Linked DNA regions of Homo sapiens: all the other regions are linked to region 3. The links are contacts of gene promoters, found by promoter capture Hi-C in blood cells and fetal thymus (Javierre and others, 2016). All regions are on one chromosome and are shown on one strand. The core of a region is centred on a gene start or on the middle of the fragment in contact, and the rest is flanking DNA. Distances in the headings are between cores, read along the strand shown.

Region 1 (2,700 bases), core at 67-2,566, 380 kb after region 3:
AGTGTACTTTTGGCTTGGATCTAACTTCCTCCTTCATATTCTGCCCTCATCTCCCGGCGTGACTCTCCTCTCTCCTCAAATTTACTTCCTGAATTGCATCTCGTCATCCTTGTGACACGCTTATCTATTAGTTGGCTCTGTTTTCTCTTTCACATTCCTACGTATTAGTAACACACAAACACACACACACCTGTGTGCGTCCTACCACCCTGCAAGCCCTGATTGCTCAGCCTCCATTATCTCTATCCCAGGTTAGCCTGCCCTCCATCACCTCCCTTCACTTGATCCCAGATACTCTTCCTGTTTCAACTCTGCTGCCTTATTTCTGCTTCCCTCTTGACCCTGCTTTCTAAATGGTCACCTCTACTTCTCCCCTGCCCATGTCTCCCCACCTGGATTGAGTCCTTTCCCCTTTCCCCTTATCAGGGTTGAGAACCACAATGATCAGAATCCTCTGCGAGTGCTTCGCTATGTGGAAGTGTTCAAGAACTCAGACAAGGAGGATGACCAGGAGCATCCATCTGAGAAACAGCCCTCTGGGGCTGAGAGTGGGACTCTAGCCAGAGCCTCTTTGGCTCTTCCAACTTCCTCCCTGTCCCGGACCGCGTCCCAGAGCAGCAGTCACCGAGGCTGGGAGATCCTTCGTCAAAACACCCTGGGGCACTTGAATCTTGGACTGAACCTTAGTGAGGGGGATGGAGAGGAGGTCTACCATTTTTGATTAACATCGCTATCACTCTTGACCTTACTCCCGGTTGGCCTGGGGGCGGGGACAGAGACGGAGACCTCTGCCTATGCAAGTGTCTAACTTCTGTGCCTGTTAATCATGGGAGGGTGAGACAGAACAATCCCTAAAGGGTCATGCCTCACACTTCACATCAGAATTTCTGGCAATGGGCAATGGTCATCGATTGTCTCACGTATTTTCTGGGCTCTTGCAAGTCACCCATCTCAGGAAAAAGGAGGTTGGCAACTAAAGACATGAGGCAGGGATGCTAGATTAATGTCAGGACCATTTCTCTTCTGCCCCACGCAGCCCCTAGAAAGTAGTAAGCTGTGAGGCTTTTCTGGCTCCCCAGGGCTTACGTGGGAAGAGCCAGGCATGGCATAGAGGTTGTGGCCCTTCTTTTTTTCCCAGCCTCCTGTAGGTCTCTCTCTCCACTTAGCAAGCAAACACCAACTGCAATAAAAAAGTCTCCTTATTCTTGCCTTCTTTAATTTTTTACTGTGGCACAATACATGTCACATAAAATTTACCATATTATCCATTTTCAGATGTGCCATTCAGTGGCATTAAGTACATTCACATTGTTGTGTAACCATCACCATTATTCATTTATGGAACTTTTTCATCATTCGGAACTGAAACTCTAATCCCCATTGAACAATAACTCTCCAGCTATCTCTCTGCCCTGGTCCCTGATAACCAATATTCTGCTTTCTGTCTATGAATTTAACTATTCTAGGTATCTTATGTAAGTGGGATTCTGCAATCTTAGTCCAAAATTTGACACAGTTTGTTTATTTATTCATCTACCAATGGACATTTGAGTTTTTTCTACCTTTTGGCCGTTGTGAATAATGCTGCTATCAATATGGTATACAAATATCTGTTCTAGTTTCTATTTTCAGATACTTTGGGCATACACCTAAAAATGGAATTGCTAGACAATTCTTATGTTTAGTTTTATGAGGAACTGCCATACTGGTTTTCACAATAGCTTTCACCATTTTACATTCCCTTCTAATGGGTGTGAAGTGGCTTCACATTGTAGTTTTGATTTGCCTTTCCCTAATGACTAATGATACTGAGCACGTTTTTATACACCTATTTATTGGATGTTTATATACCTTCTTTGGAGAAATGTCTTTTCAGTTTATTTGTCCATTTTCGAATTAGGTTTTTGTTGTTGTTGAATTGCCTTATCTTTGCTTTTTGAGGCTCACAGTCTGAAGTGTTTGCATCCTGGTGTGTTTTTAAGAATGTATGGTAAATTAGGCCTATATTTGAATGGCCTAATCATTTCTTTTCCAGGACCCTCCTGCTCTGTCCCTAGCAGCTAATCATCCTTGTGCCTGGAGGCAACAGGCTCCTGCTTGTTCTCCTGACATAGCCATCCTCCATTCCCATCTCCCTTTGCCCCACACTGAGTTGTGAAAGGAACAGCAACAATAGAGGAAGGGTCATCCCTCTCCAGGAGGGAAATTAGGAATCATGTGTCCAGGGCACCCATTATAGGTGCTCATGGTCAGCCTCTCTTGTGTCTCCAGCACTATACTTCTAATCCCAGCCCCATCATCACCCTTAGCAAAAAGCCATGTCAGCTTTTCAAAGGACTGTGGTCTGGGATAACAAAGAAGTAAGTGGTATTTGTGAAACCACAGACAGTTAATTCAGATACACCAGCCCAGGGCTGAGTGCCCAGCAGTGAGGGATTGCACAATGTGTATACACACGCCCGCACACACTGGGACACAGTGGTGGCAGGGTATGTAAAACTGCTCAGTCACCATCATTCTTCTTTATTCTCTTCATAGTAGAAGCACTTTAAAATTCTGCTTCTGTAGTCCTTTTTTTTTTTTCTTGAGACAGGGTCTTGCTCTGTTGCCCATGCTGAAGTACAGTGGTGTGATCACTGCTTACTGCAGCTTCGACCTCCTGGGCTCAAGTAATCTTCCCCCATCAGCCTCCCAAGTAGG
Region 2 (2,700 bases), core at 18-2,517, 400 kb after region 3:
CTAAATGACCTTTCCGACAGCTTCCAGCAAGCTCATGATGGAGCTCTTTGTTGTGGGAAGACGATGGGCCATGCTTAATGCCATCATTCTTCTGTATGACTGTGCGAGTCACTTAACCTCTCTGAAGCTCTGTTGGCCAGTTAGAATGAGGAGGTGTGCTAGGGAGAAAGAAGTGGGCTTGGAATGAGGGATGGGTGTGAATCTTGCCTCTGCCACCTCTATGGCCTTGGGAGAGTTCCTTTACCATGGTGAGCTTTGGTTTCTCCCATCAATACAATGTAGATAATAATACCTGCCTTGCAGGTTTGTTACGAGTTTACCTGGGAACGCTCAGTTAAAAGGCCCAGCACACAGTAGCAGCTGAATGTCACCTCCACGGGAAGGCTGGCAGATAGAATACTTGCAAAACGTGGGGTATATTTATACTAAAAAATTCTTTGTTGTTTATCTAAAATTCAAATTTGACCACGTGTCCTGTATTTTATCGGGCACCCACCCCATGCACGGGGCATTGTGGACAGTCTGTGGAGCTCCTGAGCAGGGGGTCTGCCCAGAGCTAGATTTTGTGCCCTGGCTGGTGAGCGAAGAATGCATTTTACATCTTTGGGGGTGGTTAGAAAACAACCACCAAAACAAAACCAAAGAATAACGTACATTAGAGAGTGTACATGGCTTGCAAAACCTAACATCTTTACATTTCCTATCAGCCCTTCCAGAAAAAGTTTGCTGACCCAAAGGTGATGGGGACTGAGAGGAAAGTCTGGGAGAACTGAGTATCTTCGCAATTTATATACCTATTTCAGGCCTGGCAAGAATGAAACTGGAAGAGTCCAGAAAATGGAATTCTCCAGGACATAAGCAGGGGGAGGCAGAGAGTGAGGCAGGTGGTCGGCAGAAGAGGCACTGTGGGAAAGTGGGGCGCTCCCTCCTGGGAGTCCTCAACATTGGGAATGGGCCTGCCCTGACTCCTCCCCTCCTTTCTCACTGCCTAGAGTCTCTCAGGGTAGGTCACTGGGTGTTCTGACGTCCAAGGGAGGCCTCGCCAGTCTTTCTGAAGGCCTCCCTGGTTGTGACTGGCCTGGGGGCAGGGAGAGAGCCCTGGGTGGAGAAAGAATTGGAGTTGGCACAAGTCCCCCTTGGTAGGCAGGTCTGTGGCTGGCCTGTGTCTTTAAATCTCAGGTAATTTGGGAGGAGGGAGGGCGTGTCCGTGCAGCTTTGGCTCCTCCTGCTCACTCCCAGCAGGAGCTCCAGACAGGCCAGCCCTGCAGAGTCCTGGCTGGCTCTGCCAAGTGTAACAAACTCACAGCCCTCTCCAAACTGGCTGGGGCTGCTGGGAGACTCCCAAGGAACTCGTCAGGAAGGCAGGAGACAGGAGACGGGACCTCTACAGGGAGACGGTGGGCCGGCCCTTGGGGGGGCTGATGTGGCCCCAAGGCTGAGTCCCGTCAGGGTCTGGCCTCGGCCTCAGGCCCCCAAGGAGCCGGCCCTACACCCCATGGGTTTGTCACTGCCCAAGGAGAAAGGGCTAATTCTCTGCCTATGGAGCAAGTTCTGCAGATGGTTCCAGAGACGGGAGTCCTGGGCCCAGAGCCGAGATGAGCAGAACCTGCTGCAGCAGAAGAGGTAAGGCCCCCTTGGTCTGCTCCCTTCCCCACCTCCCCAGGCCTGCACCTCTACCCCTCACCCCTCCCTCACCTCCCGTCTTTGTTTGGCACCTTTGGCTGGACAGATGGTGCTCCCAGGCCCGGACTGGCTCCTTGGGAGCATTCTGTCTTAAGAGCCTCAGCCTGTAGGGCTGGTGAAAGAGGATGGGGTTGAGATGGGCACAGGTGTTCACTATCTTAAGATCTAATTCGATTCTGCAAGCCTCTTGTGAGTACTTCTCTAAGGGCCAGGCGTCTTGCTGGGGCTTGTAAGGATAGAGCATCACAGCCCCTCCACCCAAGAGGGGACGGCAGGTGAGGACAATGCCTTCTGTATCTCCACTGCTTGCCTCTAGAACAGTCTCTCTGGCAGGAACACATAGTATACATATGTTCGCATGGAGGAATGAGTGAACGATTGAATGAATGAAGCAGAGAGAACCGCGGACACCAGGAACCAGAAAATAAGACAAAATGTGAAAAAAGTGACCATTCCTATGTATCTGTCTCATCAGACACTGACCAAGGCCTTACTATTTGCCCAGCACTGGGGGGATATGAAGACCTACAACGCTCAAACCCAACCTTGAGGTGTATTTCTCTCTCAGTGCGGGTGGGGACTGAGGGGAAGCGGGTCAAAATAACAGATGTTCCGAGGACCTGTGCTCTTCCGCATTCAGGTGGTGGAAATCGAGACTCTAGCGTTTAAGCCCTAAGGACATTCACTGGTGGCTTCCAGCCCCTGAAAACTTCCTAAACCCGTGTCCTGCTTTCTTCACCATGACAGCTTGGAGTACAGAGCAGGAGAGGAGCAGGGAATCGGAACTCAGGGCTATCCCTGCATGTGGTCTCTTCTTCAAGGTCTCTAATAGAGTTCTCTACCCAGTTGGTGGCATGCTAGAAGGAAGTCCTGCCTGTTGGGGCTTTCCCTGGGTCACGAAGGAGGCAGATGTCTGGTCATAGAGGAAAGCCTGAAGTCTTTGTGCCTTAGGGTTTTTCTCTGACCCCAAGAGTAGGAGCCTGCTTTAGCCTGACCGGGGAGGCTGCCTGGAGGCCC
Region 3 (2,700 bases), core at 1-2,500:
CTCACCGTGCATTGCCTGAGGGCCCTGGGCTCTCAGTCTGCATTGATTGGAGCTGGGACCGAAGCCCCCATTCCAGAAACCGGACCAGGAGATAGGCAAACAAGAAGAAGCCACCCAATGTGAGAAAGAAATAAGCAACGGGGGTGATGTCCGTCTTTATGCCCAGCAAAGCCAGCCCCAGTAGGAAGGAGGCGCAGCACAGGAGGAGAAGCGGCTTCTCCAGTCTCCCCAGTAAGTGCATTGGCACCATGGCCCCTCCCCAGGCTCCTGCAAAAAGACACACAGCTATTGTGTCTACACTAGCAATTGGTGTCATGGCTGTGTCAGATACCAAAGTAACCATATGATATTTCTTTGTTTGGTTTCTAGGTTCTTCAATCTCAAATAAATCATCTGTAGAGTCCCCTCCAGTTCCGAAATTCTCTCTATGTCTTGGAGTGTGTGGAATAGCCAGGAAACCAGCCCAGGAGCTTTGACTCCCAGCCATTCTGTAAGTTGACTGTGTCATGGCTCTGCCTTCTTTCCTTTCTCCTTCCCTGTAGTCTCCCTTCCAGCTTTGTCCCTTACCACCATCCAGGATCCGGTCCTGGGCACGCCCTGCCTGGGGCTTCAGTGCACACTGGCATCTCTGGAATTCAGGTGATGGGGCAGGCCCTGCCCTTCCTCTGTTATTGCTCCTACTGGATCTCCACCCCCACCTCCCCAGCCAGAGGCCCTCAATCCAGCCCCGTTAGAGAGAAGAGGGGAGGGAGCCCCACTTACCCTGTCTGACTCTGTCTTTTCCTTTCCTCCGGTGTTAGCCCATGCTCCAGGTGGAGGGAGAAAGTGCACACAGGCGCACCAAAGCCACAGGGACACAACTGCTTGAGAAACAATTGTACAGGCAAAGGCCCAGCACAATGGCCGGAGGCCCTGATAACTCCTGTCCTCTTCTAGACCCCACATCTGCCAGGGCCCTCCTCTACCCTCTGCTGATCCTAACTTGTTAAACTCAGTTTGCAAATTTCCTGCCAGGAGGTAGCCCAGTGGCTGGGAGGCGGTGGGCAGGGGAACTCTTTTCTTTCCTTGTAACAGCAACAACCCGAGGCAGCCCATACCCCAGAAACAGCCTGTCAGAAGTTGCCAGCGCTCTGTGTAGCAAGGAATTGCAGATTCCCTCCTCACACCTCGGTCCCAATCCCATGACCCTCCCGACCCTCGCACCCACACCTGTCTCAGAAGTTCGTCGCTCACCTGTCTCCACAGACTGTAGAAAGTAGATGGGGTGGGGGGTGGTGGGAAGGGCCGGAGCGGGTAGGTGGAGCCCACTGGCCCCACCCTCTTTTTCTGTCCCAATCCCTGTTCTGGCCCAGTCAGTCTCCGCCCCTTTTCTCCCTAAGGCTGACTTCCAACTGCTGAACCTTGATTTGTTCTGGTTTTTACTCTCTCCACCCACCCATGCTGTACCCTAATGAGAGTGCACCCCTGACTCCCAATGATCTTTGTACTTAGGACCGGAGTTAGCATTAACCTTTCCCTCTCGGCGCATATTGTATGTTAATTACAGCCCTGGGCAGTTTGCCTTCTATTTGGGTAATTTACCTTGTGCGTCTCTCCCAAGTGACTGGAAGCGGAGACCTCGGCTTATTTAATCTCTGTAGATCATCACACAGTGCACTGCACACAGAAAGTAATGCTGTGGGCATGGAATGGTGTGTCCTGCTTCCATTACCCAAGTGCTATTTTTATGGACTCCCTGTATTCTGCAGACCTGTCAGAAGTGTTAGTGTGTATATTTCTTGACCCAGTTAACTCTTGAGTCTTCAAGATCCTCCTCCGAGGTGATGCTGCTTTGGAGCCTGCTCCAGTGTATCCACATCGTTCCTTCCTAAATTTGTCCCAGCATTTACCTGGTTATGTAGCATTTTTCTGCTTACTGATTTTCCTTCCACTGTGAGTTTCTCAAGGTGCGTGATTAGTTTTAATCATCTCTGAATCCTGGAAACTAACATGGTTCCTGAAACGTGGTAGGTCACTAACTAGAAGGCTCCCCTCTCACCAGGCCTCACCACACCTGTGAAGATCAAAGAGCTGTTCTTTTTAGTTGTGGGTCAGGCAGTTAAGTCGGAGTAGGGTAGGTGCTTGGAGGTAGAGAGTGAGTAGAAGCATACTTGGTCCTTGAGCCAGAGGGTGAACAAAACTGGGCCCCGTTCCTTCAGAGGGTGACCAGCAGACAGACCGAGGGAAGCTGCAGACCGTGGGCACAAATCCAATCCAGGCTCCCCAGGGACAGCTGGGGTGGGGAAGCATAGGAGAGGGTGTGTGTGTGTGTGTGTGTGTGAGAGAGAGAGAGAGAGAGTATGGGAATGAGAATAACTGTGTCTGTAGTGGTAATAAGTGTGGGCACTGGTGGGATATTGAAGATTCTCTGTCCCAGAGCCCCAGATCGATAGCAGAGAGAGGAAGGAGACATTAACAGGAAGGCTGTGGGAGTCTAAATGAGGTGTGTCTCTATGCAAAGTAGGCACAGGAGTGAGGGGGGCTGATTGTTGTTCTGTTTCAGCCAATTTCCTCACTGTTCTGCTCATAAGGGGAAAGTACAGCTGGAATCAGGACTGCAGTCTACAGTTAACATATGAATAGAAGGAAATTGGCCAAGGGTCATTGGTGTGTGTGATAGGAAAGGGGGTTTGTTAAGGAGTGAGTTGTGGGAATGGGAAG
Region 4 (2,700 bases), core at 46-2,545, 480 kb after region 3:
AAGTGATGGTGACTGGGGCTCTGGGATGCTCACGGGAATCCCATTTCCCCCACAAAGAAGTTATTTTATTACACAACCATTTGGATGACCCCCTTTTTCTTCCAATTTCCCAAATAAATCTGTAAAGGTCACAGGTGAAGTTCTTCTCTTTAAGAGCTACTCCATGCTAAGTTCAGCGAGAACTTGGGGTACCCTAGACATTCTTCCAGAGATGCTTTTCTTGTAACTCTTTTCAATAAGTAAGCATGCTTTGCTCTGCACTGGGTGTCACCTGTGTTGGATGCTGTTGTCCCTGCCTTGCCCTATATTCTGTCCACATGGTTTCTTCATAGGATGATGCTTAGGTCAGCCCTGAGGTTTGAACCAGTCAACAAGTCCAGGTTGGTGTGGAGTCCCTTTAGTACCTCCCTTTGCAGGAATAATGCTGCACCCAGAAACTCCCTCAGAGCCTCTCCACTGGAGGGGCCTTGTGACCATTCCTGGTTTACTCCTCTTGTTCCAGCATCCCATGTGGCCAATGGGCCCCTTTCATTTTCAATGGTATCTCAATTCTTACAGTAAGTTATATTATTGCCCTACATCGAACTCATCTTTTCTCAGTGTTACCTGAGGAAGAATGGAGAGGATGCCCAGAATTGGCCCAGAAGAATCCACTTCGATTCTAGAGAAAAAGGCAGGTAGAGGCAGAAGAGATTCACTTCCCAGTGCATGCGTGCTGAATGTTGGGGGTGTTGTTTGAGAGAGACAAGGAAATGGCTGTAAAAACTTGGGAAGAGGAACCTGCCCTGGGTCAAGTAGGGTGTTGGGAGGACCAGATGGAGCTTGAAGCTCTCTCCATCTCTGTCAAGTCCCCTGGACTGAGAGGGTAAAATTCACATGGCCTTTTATCCTCCAGAGGAGAATTCATTCACCTGGGTCTGATTGCAAACTCTAGGGTACTAACAAGAAACTCCTCCCACATCCTCCCACCTGCTAATGCCTCCGTTTTCCACGTCCCCAAGATGATGGCCATCAAACTAACAGACACTATCTTTCTTCTACAAGGTGTTTCCCCCTTCCCACCTCCACTCTAATCTTGCACTACAGCTGCTCAGCCCCTCACAGCTCTGCCCACACAAACCACTATCCTCCAATATCCCCAGTCCTAGCCTGCGCCCTCTGGCCCCCACAGTTCTGCTCTCTCTGAAGTGCTTCCTTGTTCCCTCGGCTGCTCATCCTCCTGTCCTACCTTTGCGAGGAGCCACAAGGATATGCCTGCTGCCTCCACGCAGGTCTAAGGAGTGGGAAGCATGAATGTTGGTCTAGGGCCTAAAGCCTGTCCCCTTTGTTTTAGGCTTTTTTTTAGCCAATATAAAAACAAACCAGCACATATGTAACAACAATAGCCAACAAAATACTATACTGCATTTTGAGCAGTCTAGAGATAGTTACGACTGATGGAAATGACCGGCATGTGATGAGTTTCCTGGGCCCCATCCCTGCTGTGAGCACATCCTTTCCTGGTCTTTGCAAGCTGCCACCAGAGAACCCTCTTCTCCAGTTCCAAGATCCCCAGTGTAGTGGGAAGAAGAGTGTTCCCCCAGAATTCATGCCCACTCAGAAACTCAGAATGTGACCTTATTTGGAAATAGGGACTTGGCAGGTATAATTTGTTAAGATCTCTCAATAAAATTGTTCTGGATTTAGGGTGGGCCCTAAATCCTAAGACCATGCCTTGAAAAGAGAAAGGAGAGGGGAGCTTAAATGCAGAGACACAGGGAAAATGCCATGTGAAGACAGAGGCAGAGATTGCTGCGATGCTGGCACAAGCCAAGGAGTGCCAGAAGCCATCAGACATGGGAAGAAGCAGGAAAGGATTCTCCCCTAGAGCTGTCATACAGGATGACCCGCTGACATCTTGGTGTTGTATCTTTAGCCTCCAGAACTGTGAGAGAATAAGTTTTTATTGTTTTAAACCCACCAGTGGTACTTTGTTACGGCAGCCGTGGGAAACAAAGACACCAAGGCATTAAGGTGTCTTCAGTGTGTTACCATGGGCCCTGCCTGGAGTTTGGGAGAAGCTGCTCTAGGATCACCCAGATACCAGGAGCAATCCCACCATCCTGGTAACTACTTGGAAAAAGTTTCCAGAATTGCCATCTTCAGCAGAACATGCCACGGTTTCACAACTCATAAGTAATTTGAACTGTAATCTTCAGTTTCCACATCTATAACATGGGGAAAATAATACCTGTTCCTGGGATCATTGTGCAGATGCAGACAGCACAGGTAGCAGCGTCCAGCCTGAGGCCTGAAGCAAGCAGGCTCTCAACAAAGGGCTCCCTCCTCTTTCCCAACCTTTCTCTGCTTTCAGACTTCTCTTCTCTCCCCTGACAGTCTTCCTCAACTAACTTCGACATGGCCTCTCTCAGCCCCTCTCACTGTTCTAGGCCTCCTTTTCTTTAATCCCATTCCTCCTCTTCCTCCATGTAGTGTTTTACCACAATGCATTCAGCCTGTATGCAGAATTTACCTTGACAGGATAACTGTCTTTGCCCAAGTAGGAGCAGTTAACACCTTGTGTTTGGAGTGGTTTGGTTTCCATCCATCAAACGAAGAAGCCCATTGGAAGGGCTACTCTGAACATAGCACTTCAGCCCCCACTGGGCCCTATATCCCATTGCTCCTGACTTAGTGTGTCTCGCTCCTGAGAAATCACTC
Region 5 (2,700 bases), core at 11-2,510, 460 kb after region 3:
GATCGTCTCGATCTCTTGACCTTGTGATCCACCCGCCTTGGCCTCCTAAAATGCTGGGATTACAGGCGTGAGCCCCTGCGCCCGGCCATGTGGAGTTTCAATAAACACTGCCAAATTACCCTCCATAAAGACTGTTGCAGTTTACTTTCCAGCTGTGCATGAGAGCATGTTATTTCCCTACATGCTTGCCAACATCAGATACTATTGATTCTTTTAATTATGCCAATCTGATGGGTGAAATGGTGGGTTTTTAAAAACATTACATTCAACCGATCATTAGATCTAGCCTCTTTCTGTATGTATGTTGGCCTTCCTCAGTGCAGGTCTATCTTTTACGCATTTTCTCTTCTTTTCCTATTTCAGAGGAAAAAAGTTCCCCCTTCTTGATGTCCAATAATTAATCCACATGCCTCTTTGTTTCTCAAATATCTTCTTTCTTTAGCATCTTCAATTTTCCTGTCTTTATGTAGTTCTTCCTCTTGGCTTTCTATATAATCAGACTATAAATACGTTGGAATAAAAGACTGTATTCAACTCTACCATTCCCTTTAACCTCTCCCTTACTCGCTCTGCCCCTAAACTTGTCAAATGAGTGCTCTGAATCTGCTACTTTCTCCTCCTCTAGTCAACAACATCGGTGAAGTCATTCAGTCCTAATTTTACTGAATTTTTAAAGTTCTTTTAAATCCTGCTGCCACCTCTTTGTACCCACAGTCTCCTCTGAACTTCCAAGATACCATCCCATTTCTTGTCTTCCCTCTAGAACTACTTTCTTAATTTCTTAAGCTTACTTTTCCCCTCCTTTTACCTATAAGTGTGGATGTTCAACAGTTTTTATTTTTGGACCTTTGTTCCTTTTTCTTCACTTGTTGCTTTGGAGATCTCATCCATTCCAAACATTTCAACTATTTTCTCTCTGCGGATGACCCCTGAAGTCAGTATTTCTAGTCCTGGTGTCTCATTAAAAATCCAAATTTTCACTTGCACTTTTCTGATTGAATTGGACTCAATGTGACTTCAAGGTCAGAATGACAAATGACATTTAGTATCTTCCTCTCTCTCAAACTGAATTCTGTGATTTTATCAACTTTTTTTTTTTTTGTATGTAATGAGAAACAGAACATCTTACTTTCCAAGTAGTGAATTCTCCCTGGATAGAGACTAATTTTGTCTACTGAATACTTTGATGAGTCACTTTTGATGTAGGGGAATAGGTGAGAGGGCAACCTCAGGAAGGACTGAGCTTGTAGAGAAAGAGGTGGCTATGCAACTGCTTTCCAAGTGGTGCTGAGCTGCTGTTACACTTTTGTTTTGCTGGATACACTTTCAAGAGCTGAATTGTCTGGGGCTATAATGAGGATGGCAGTGGCTGTGGAAAGAAAGAGGAGGAAAAAGGTAGCTGGCAACCAGAATGGAAATTTGGCAAAAGAACAGACACGTTTAAGAGGGATTTTATGAGGCTCTGCCCTGCTCCACTGCATGCATGATATACTTGCTTACTTATCTCTCTGGAAAATCTTCAGCACAAAACCTTTTCTTACTGATTGATTGTGATTAATTGCAGTTAATTAGTTAAAATGTGGCATTAATTATTGACATTCTCTTGCTTAAATTTTCTCAGTGGTTTTCTGTTGTCCTAACACTGTATCAAAAATAATTCTTTCTTTTACAGCTTTATTAAAATGCACTTGACAAACAATAGACATCTTTAAAATGTACAATTTGGTAAGCTTTGACATACGCAAACACCTGGGAAACCATCATAAAACTTAATGTAATGAACTTACACATCACCTCCAAAAGTTTTGCTGTGGCCCGCTATTTATTTATTTATTTAAATTTCAACTTTTATTTTAGATACAGGGAGAACATGTGCAGATTTGTTACATGGGAATATTGCCTAATACTGAGGTTTGTACTGAGGTTTGAAGTACAGATCTTGTCACCCAGGTACAGAAGATAGTGCCTGATAGGTAGTTTTTCAAAACACTTCCCCTTGTCTCTCTCCCCCTTCTGGTAGTTCACAATGTCTATTGTTCCATTGTTTATATCCATGTATGCTCAATGTTTAGTTCCCACTTTTAAGTGATAACATGCGATATTTGGTTTTCCGTTCCTGGATTAATTTGCTTAGGATTATGGCCTCCAACTGCATCCATTTTGCTGCAAAGAACATAATTTCATTCTTTTTTTATGGCTGCGTACCATTCCATGGTGTATATGTACCACATTTTCTTGATCCAATCTACCATTGATGGGCACCTGGTTTGATTCCATGTCTTTGCTATTGTGAATAGCCTTGTGGCTTTTTATAATTCCATCCTTCTCTCCATGCTGTTCCCAGACAAACACTGATAGAGTGCTTCTTCTATTACTATAGATTTCTTTGTGTTTTCTAGAATTTAATATAATGCAATTATAAACTATGTACTCTTTTTTGTTTCTTTACTTTTATTCATCATATTATTTTGAGATTTATCTATGTTGTTTTAAATTTAAATAGTTCATTCTTTTTATTGCTAATTTTCCTTTGTGTGGATACATGACAATTTCAGCATTAGTTCGCCCATTAATAGGCAATTGGATTTTTTCCAAATTTTGACTATTACAAATAAAATTGTTATGAAAATTTGTGTCTTTGTGTGGACCTGTGCCTTTCTTTCTTTCTTTTTTTTTTTTTTAGACAGAGTCTCTGTCTGT
Region 6 (2,700 bases), core at 61-2,560, 280 kb after region 3:
TTTTTTAGGCCCTCTTTCCAGAGTTTAACAGCTGCCTGAGCTCCTGGTGAGAGGATGGACCAATCTAAAATAAATAATAACACACATACCCTTTGTCTTATGTAATGACAGATCTTCAATTTAAATTTATGTACTGCATCTCTATGTAAACTAATTAAAATTTCTGGCATGTTAGCCTATGCAATTAGACAAGAGAAAAAAAATGCAGGGCCAAGATGTTAAAAAGGAGGAGAAAAAAAGATTAACATGAATTTTAAATAATTTGTTTATCTGGAAATCTCAACAAAATAAAGTAAAAAACCAATGTGGCTGGGCACAAAATTTATATTGAGAGTCAAAAGACTTCACATATAAAACACATTAAGTTAGAAAATATAATGGAAGGAAAGAACCTCATTTACAAAAGCAAAAGCAAAGAAATATAACATTATTAGGAATAAGCTTAACAAGTAAAGATTTACATTTAAACTAGATTGACATTTAAAAAAATGCTCCTGAAAGACACAAAAGTAGATTTGAGCAAATGGAAAGGTGGAGTAAACAATACAAAGATATCAATTCTCCTCTAAGTGTATCCATAAAAATGATACAATCACAATTTAAAAATCAATAGTATTTTTTAAATCTAGAGAAGCAGATTACATTTTATTCATGCATTATTTCATTCATTTATATTTTTAGAGACAGAGTCTTGCTCTGTCAGCCAGGCTGGAGTGTAGTGGCATGATCATAGCTCACTACAGACTTGAACTGCTGGACTCAAGTGATCCTCCCACCTCAGCCGCCTGAATAGCTGGGATTACACATGTGAGCCATCGTGCCCAGCTTAGATTAAACTTTTTATTATGGAAAAATAAACAAGCAAAAAATTTTCAAAAACATTCTGAAATAGAAGCATAATGAGGAATAACTACATCTGTAAAACAGACTATATAGCTATAATGTAAACAGTACTATCATTGGGAAAAAATGAATTATTCAATAAATGGTCAAACAAACTAGCAGCTACCTAAAAAACAAAAGTTAATTCCATTACTGCCTATGTCATACCAGGCTGTTTAAAATGGGTCAAATATTTAAATGTAAAAAAAAAACATAGATTTAACATAAGAAATAAAAGAATGTTTATAAAAATGGGTAAGACCTTTCTTAGGATGACTTAAAACACAGATGTCATAGAAGATTGACTTTATGAAGAATTTTTTAAAAATTTGCTATGGTTAATACTACCCCAAGGTAAACAGACACACGAAAACACCAGAAAACAATTTCAACTCATATCACAAAAGGTTAGTTTGCATCATGTGTAAAAAGCTCCTATAAGAAAAAAATAAAACTACTCAGCAGAAAAATGGGCAAAAGATAAGCACATGTGAGAATATTTTCATCTTCATTCATAAGGAGAACAATAAAAATTAAAGCCATATTAAGATACTATTTTCAGTTATTAAACTGGCAAATGTCAAAAAGTTTTATAGTACACTGCGTGAAAATAGGTAGTGTAAAATGTAATAGCCTGCATGAAGGGCAATTATGTAATATATATTAAAGTGACAAATGCTTTTACGCTTTGGCCTAGCAATTCCTCTTCTAGAAATTGTCATTTAGATATTGTGTACAGGGAAATAATGTATGTATTCCATTTGGTGGAATAATCTGGAGTTATTAAAAAAGGAAACAAGAACCAAGAATGTCTTATGTATAAATATACAATGATCTGTACTGCATAGGACATATGTTCGATATACTACCATTTGTACAAAAAGAAAATGTGCTTGTATGCATTTGCTTATGCAGACGTATATGCTTAAAATTACCTCTGTAAAGACACAGAAGAAAGTGATAACATTGGTTGCCTTGAGGGAGGAGGATCAGATAGAAAAGTGTTTCAAAGTATCCTTTAAAATTTTGAACCATGGAAGTATATTATGCTTTGATGCTTTAATATTTGAATATAGTTATATCTTCTTTTGATATTCTGGCACTTTTAAAAACATCTGTATTTGGGGTACTATATGATCCTGATTCTCTAAGTGTTATAATTAACATATATATCTTATTAATCCAAAACTCAACTATGTAGTCTTTCTAGAACATAGCTAGGAATCAGAAAATAGCAAAATAAACCAGCAAGCAGACAAAATAAATGTTACAAAGTCCATGAACCACATAAAGCTTAGCCACTTTACTCACAGGAAGTCTGTTAGAGTCCCTTTTATCTGTTTGTTTATTTATTGGAAATAAGCTTGATAAAATGATTTACTCATAGAAAGGAGATAAGAAAAGACAGGTCTACTGAAAACAACAAGCAGTGTGTTAGCTCTCAATCAAGAGACATGTTGAGAGAAATTAAAAACCAACTGTACAAAGCTGACCAAAGGACTTAAGACATTTTTGTTCATTTAGTGCAGGAGCAAACCTTCTCTGAGATCATGTATATATGACAGTGGCATCCTAATGATCGTCTTGAGAAACCAAGAAGACATTCAGGTATGCTCAATAGAATCTATTAAGACTGATTTTCATGCCTAACATTTAAATAAAATATAAAAACTTTTGATGATTAAGTCTAAAACTTAGAGTCTCTGGAAAATGGAATAACACATTTCAGGTTGGTGGTGTTTTGGAGTATATTTTTAAATGCTTAACTGAAGATATCACCAAATGCCAGAGTAATTGGTCAGAGATTTCTTTTTCTAT
Region 7 (2,700 bases), core at 174-2,673, 350 kb after region 3:
CCGTTACCCCAATTTCACAGGTTAGGAACTGAGGCTCAGAAAGCTCACCTAACTGTAAGGGATAAGAGTCAGGATTTGAACCAGGCTCTGCCTGACTCTTGAGCTGGAAGTCTTTATTTCCTCCTCTCCCTCATGCAACTAACTGTGCACCTTGTTTGTGGACCCACCTTCCATCCCTTTTCTTTTTCCAAATTCCTCTGCCCCACCTCTTAGCTTCTCGGGTCTCAGCCATCCCAGCCCACAGTTAGGAACCTTCCTTCCCCTCCTCCTTTTCTTCCCCAGGGTGGTTCTGTGGCTGTGGGGCTCAGCTCTGCAAAGAGCTCCTCCCCCTCCAGGAAAAGCACTTCTCCCCAGGCAGGGCGGTCAGTCCCCTCAGCGCACCTGCATGCACACACACCACCTCACAACCACACACTGCATGCACACACATACACCACAGCCACACACTGTGCATACACGCACACCCCACAACCCACATACTGCATGCACACACACACACCTACAAGCTGCATGCTGCATACACAAGTCATACAGGAGATAAACTCAGAGTCCCAGCCCCAAATAGACCCCATCTCTTGCTCAGTTGCTGTCATCCTAGACCTGTTTCTTTCGCCACATTTCTATAATCTGCCAGTGTCTGCAAGGAGAAGACATGGGGGGTTTTCTACCTAAGGCAGAAGGGCCCGGGAGCCAACTCCAGAAACTTCTGCCCTCCTTTCTGGTCAGAGAACAAGACTGGGACCAGCACCTGGACAAGCTTCATATGCTGCAGCAGAAGAGGTAGGCTTCCTAGAACGATCCGTGGCCCTACCGCCGTGATCCTCAGACCCTCTGACCCACCTGGGCCTGCTTTCCGAATACAGCACCCTAGAAGTGTATTGTCAGTGCCAGTCACTCAGACATACCCTTTCCTTCCAGCCCACCTAATTACAGAATCCCAGCTGGCCCCTTTTAGTGGCGGTGGAGGATGTGGCTTTGGGCCACACAGGAAAATCTTGAGGGTAGACCTAAGGACAGAGGCAGAATGACAGCCAAGGGGGAGTGAAAGGACCAAAAAGGACCAGAGGGAAGAAGCCAGGTTGTGTGGGATGGGGAGGGAAGGCAGAAGCAGGCTGCTGAAGAAGGGATGCACTCCTGTGGGTGGTGGAAGCACGATAAGGAAACGCCATTCATTTGAATGAAAGTGGACTGTGTGGGAAAGGGGAGGAGCGCTTTGTTTGGTGTAACACTGGGTGCTGACCAGTGGAGGAGGGCAGCTCAGGTGACACTGGAGGGCTCTGAGTTCAGTCCATCTGCCTTTTATTGAGTCTACTGTGTGCAGAGGGGTGTTAGATCCCAATGACATAAAGATTGAATGAGACTTGTGCCTGCTCCTGGAGAGCTCTTAGTTCGGGCAGGGCTAGCACACCTGCAGGTAAATCATTTCATGGCTTAGCCCTGAGGTCCAGTCCCAGGAAGAGCAGCTGGGGCAGGGACGAATCCTGTGGGCTGCTTCTTCCTCCAAGTGTTTTGGGGCTTGCCTCCCACCCAACAGCTGCCTGAGGGGTGAGGTTGTTGAGCAGACATTAGCAGTCACAAAGGGCTCCCCTGTACTCCAGAAGATTCCTGTGCTTTGTTCAATGCCCTGCTGTCCTCATCTTCAAGTTCTTAATAATTTTGAACAAGGGGTCCTGCATTTGCAGTTTACACTGGGCCTGGTCCCAAGTACCTCTGAGCCCTCATACTGTCAAGCCCTCTGCTTCCTCATCTCCCCACCCAATACCTCCAGTGGAATCTCACCTTCCTGCTTTAGAGTGGGACCCCTGGGTCTCTGAGAAAGTGAGCTTCCAGCCCCAACTTGGACCCTCTGCAGAGGGGCAGTGGGGATAGAGGGCCAGGGAGGCAAGGACTTTGTTTGTGCAGTGGCCTCAGGATGGGGGTGAATTTGCAATCTCAGCCCTGACCACTCTAGGCTGGTCAGGGACACCAGGCTCCCTGGGACTGATTCCCTGGGTGAGACGGGGCAGGGAACTGACTCCTCACAAAGGCCCCTCCTAGGAGCACTGCCTTAACAGGTAAAACCAGGCCCCACCTTTAGATTAAAAGCTTCTTCTTTAAATGAAAACACTTTGGCTGGGCGTGGTGGCTCACACCTGTAATCCCAGCACTTTGGGAGGCCGAGATGGGTGGATCACCTGAGGTCAGGAGTTCGAGAGCAGCCTGGCCAACATGCTGAAACCCCGTCTCTACCAAAAATAAAAAAACTAGTCAGGCATGGTGGTGGGCACCTGTAGTCCCAGCTACTCGGGAGGCTGAGGCAGGAGAATCACTTGAACCCAGGAGGCGGAAGTTGCAGTGAGCCGAGATCGCACCACTGCACTCCAGTCTGGGCAATAGAGTGAGACTTCGTCTCAAAAAAAATAAATAAATAAAATAAAAACACTTTTTCGCCCTGGCTCCTGGGGCTATTGGAAGAGAGGGATTTGGAGGTGGGGACCTCAGAGGAGCCACTCATCGGCCTGTCCTTTCTGTTCTTCCCCCTACACCATGTGCTTGCCTTTGGGGCCAATACACATATGTCTAGTTGGAGAGGCTCCAGCTTTATCTCTTTCTGGGTTCAAATCTGGGTATGGTAGAAGCAAAGATTAACAGAGGTCCTGTAGAATGAGTATCTCAACCTGTTTTGCCTTGAGACACCCACATAAACAAGCTGTTTAGACC

The links. The method cuts DNA at HindIII sites, captures the fragments that hold promoters and counts their contacts. A CHiCAGO score of 5 or more calls a contact.
Region 1: a fragment that was not itself captured here is called in contact with the fragment with the promoter of TMEM139 in region 3 in 1 of 17 cell types (neutrophils); the score reaches 6.4 in neutrophils.
Region 2: the fragment with the promoter of TRPV6 here is called in contact with the fragment with the promoter of TMEM139 in region 3 in 1 of 17 cell types (neutrophils); the score reaches 5.2 in neutrophils.
Region 4: a contact is called between a fragment that was not itself captured here and the fragment with the promoter of TMEM139 in region 3, in 1 of 17 cell types (activated CD4 T cells). The highest score is 7.0, in activated CD4 T cells.
Region 5: a contact is called between a fragment that was not itself captured here and the fragment with the promoter of TMEM139 in region 3, in 3 of 17 cell types (naive CD8 T cells, total CD4 T cells and non-activated CD4 T cells). The highest score is 5.9, in naive CD8 T cells.
Region 6: a fragment that was not itself captured here is called in contact with the fragment with the promoter of TMEM139 in region 3 in 1 of 17 cell types (neutrophils); the score reaches 5.4 in neutrophils.
Region 7: a fragment that was not itself captured here is called in contact with the fragment with the promoter of TMEM139 in region 3 in 1 of 17 cell types (neutrophils); the score reaches 5.3 in neutrophils.

The regions. Positions count from the first base shown.
Region 1 is chr7:142,906,535-142,909,234 of GRCh38, reverse strand. It overlaps TRPV5 (transient receptor potential cation channel subfamily V member 5), which reads left to right. Exons shown (of 15, transcript NM_019841.7): 15 at 427-1,134. The coding sequence ends at 721. Among named protein-coding and RNA genes, the nearest start is that of TRPV6, 22 kb to the right of the region's middle. The HindIII fragment of the contact is 4,444 bases long and covers 1-2,700 here.
Region 2 is chr7:142,884,312-142,887,011 of GRCh38, reverse strand. TRPV6 (transient receptor potential cation channel subfamily V member 6) reads left to right here and starts at 1,267. Exons shown (of 15, transcript NM_018646.6): 1 at 1,267-1,623. The coding sequence starts at 1,376. The HindIII fragment of the contact is 18,692 bases long and covers 1-2,700 here.
Region 3 is chr7:143,283,508-143,286,207 of GRCh38, reverse strand. TMEM139 (transmembrane protein 139) reads right to left here and starts at 1,250. Exons shown (of 3, transcript NM_001282876.2): 1 at 763-1,250; 2 at 6-267. The coding sequence starts at 250. It overlaps TMEM139-AS1 (TMEM139 antisense RNA 1), which reads left to right. Exons shown (of 3, transcript NR_133932.1): 1 at 1-231; 2 at 370-490. RefSeq lists an enhancer at 25-1,224. The HindIII fragment of the contact is 11,639 bases long and covers 1-2,700 here.
Region 4 is chr7:142,803,256-142,805,955 of GRCh38, reverse strand. It overlaps TRB. Among named protein-coding and RNA genes, the nearest start is that of PRSS2, 34 kb to the right of the region's middle. RefSeq lists a cis regulatory region at 852-1,253. The HindIII fragment of the contact is 5,985 bases long and covers 1-2,700 here.
Region 5 is chr7:142,826,851-142,829,550 of GRCh38, reverse strand. No RefSeq gene overlaps it. Among named protein-coding and RNA genes, the nearest start is that of EPHB6, 27 kb to the left of the region's middle. The HindIII fragment of the contact is 944 bases long and covers 789-1,732 here.
Region 6 is chr7:142,999,487-143,002,186 of GRCh38, reverse strand. No RefSeq gene overlaps it. Among named protein-coding and RNA genes, the nearest start is that of OR9A2, 26 kb to the left of the region's middle. The HindIII fragment of the contact is 1,734 bases long and covers 444-2,177 here.
Region 7 is chr7:142,931,412-142,934,111 of GRCh38, reverse strand. It overlaps TRPV5 (transient receptor potential cation channel subfamily V member 5), which reads left to right and starts at 366. Exons shown (of 15, transcript NM_019841.7): 1 at 366-780. The coding sequence starts at 653. The HindIII fragment of the contact is 1,328 bases long and covers 760-2,087 here.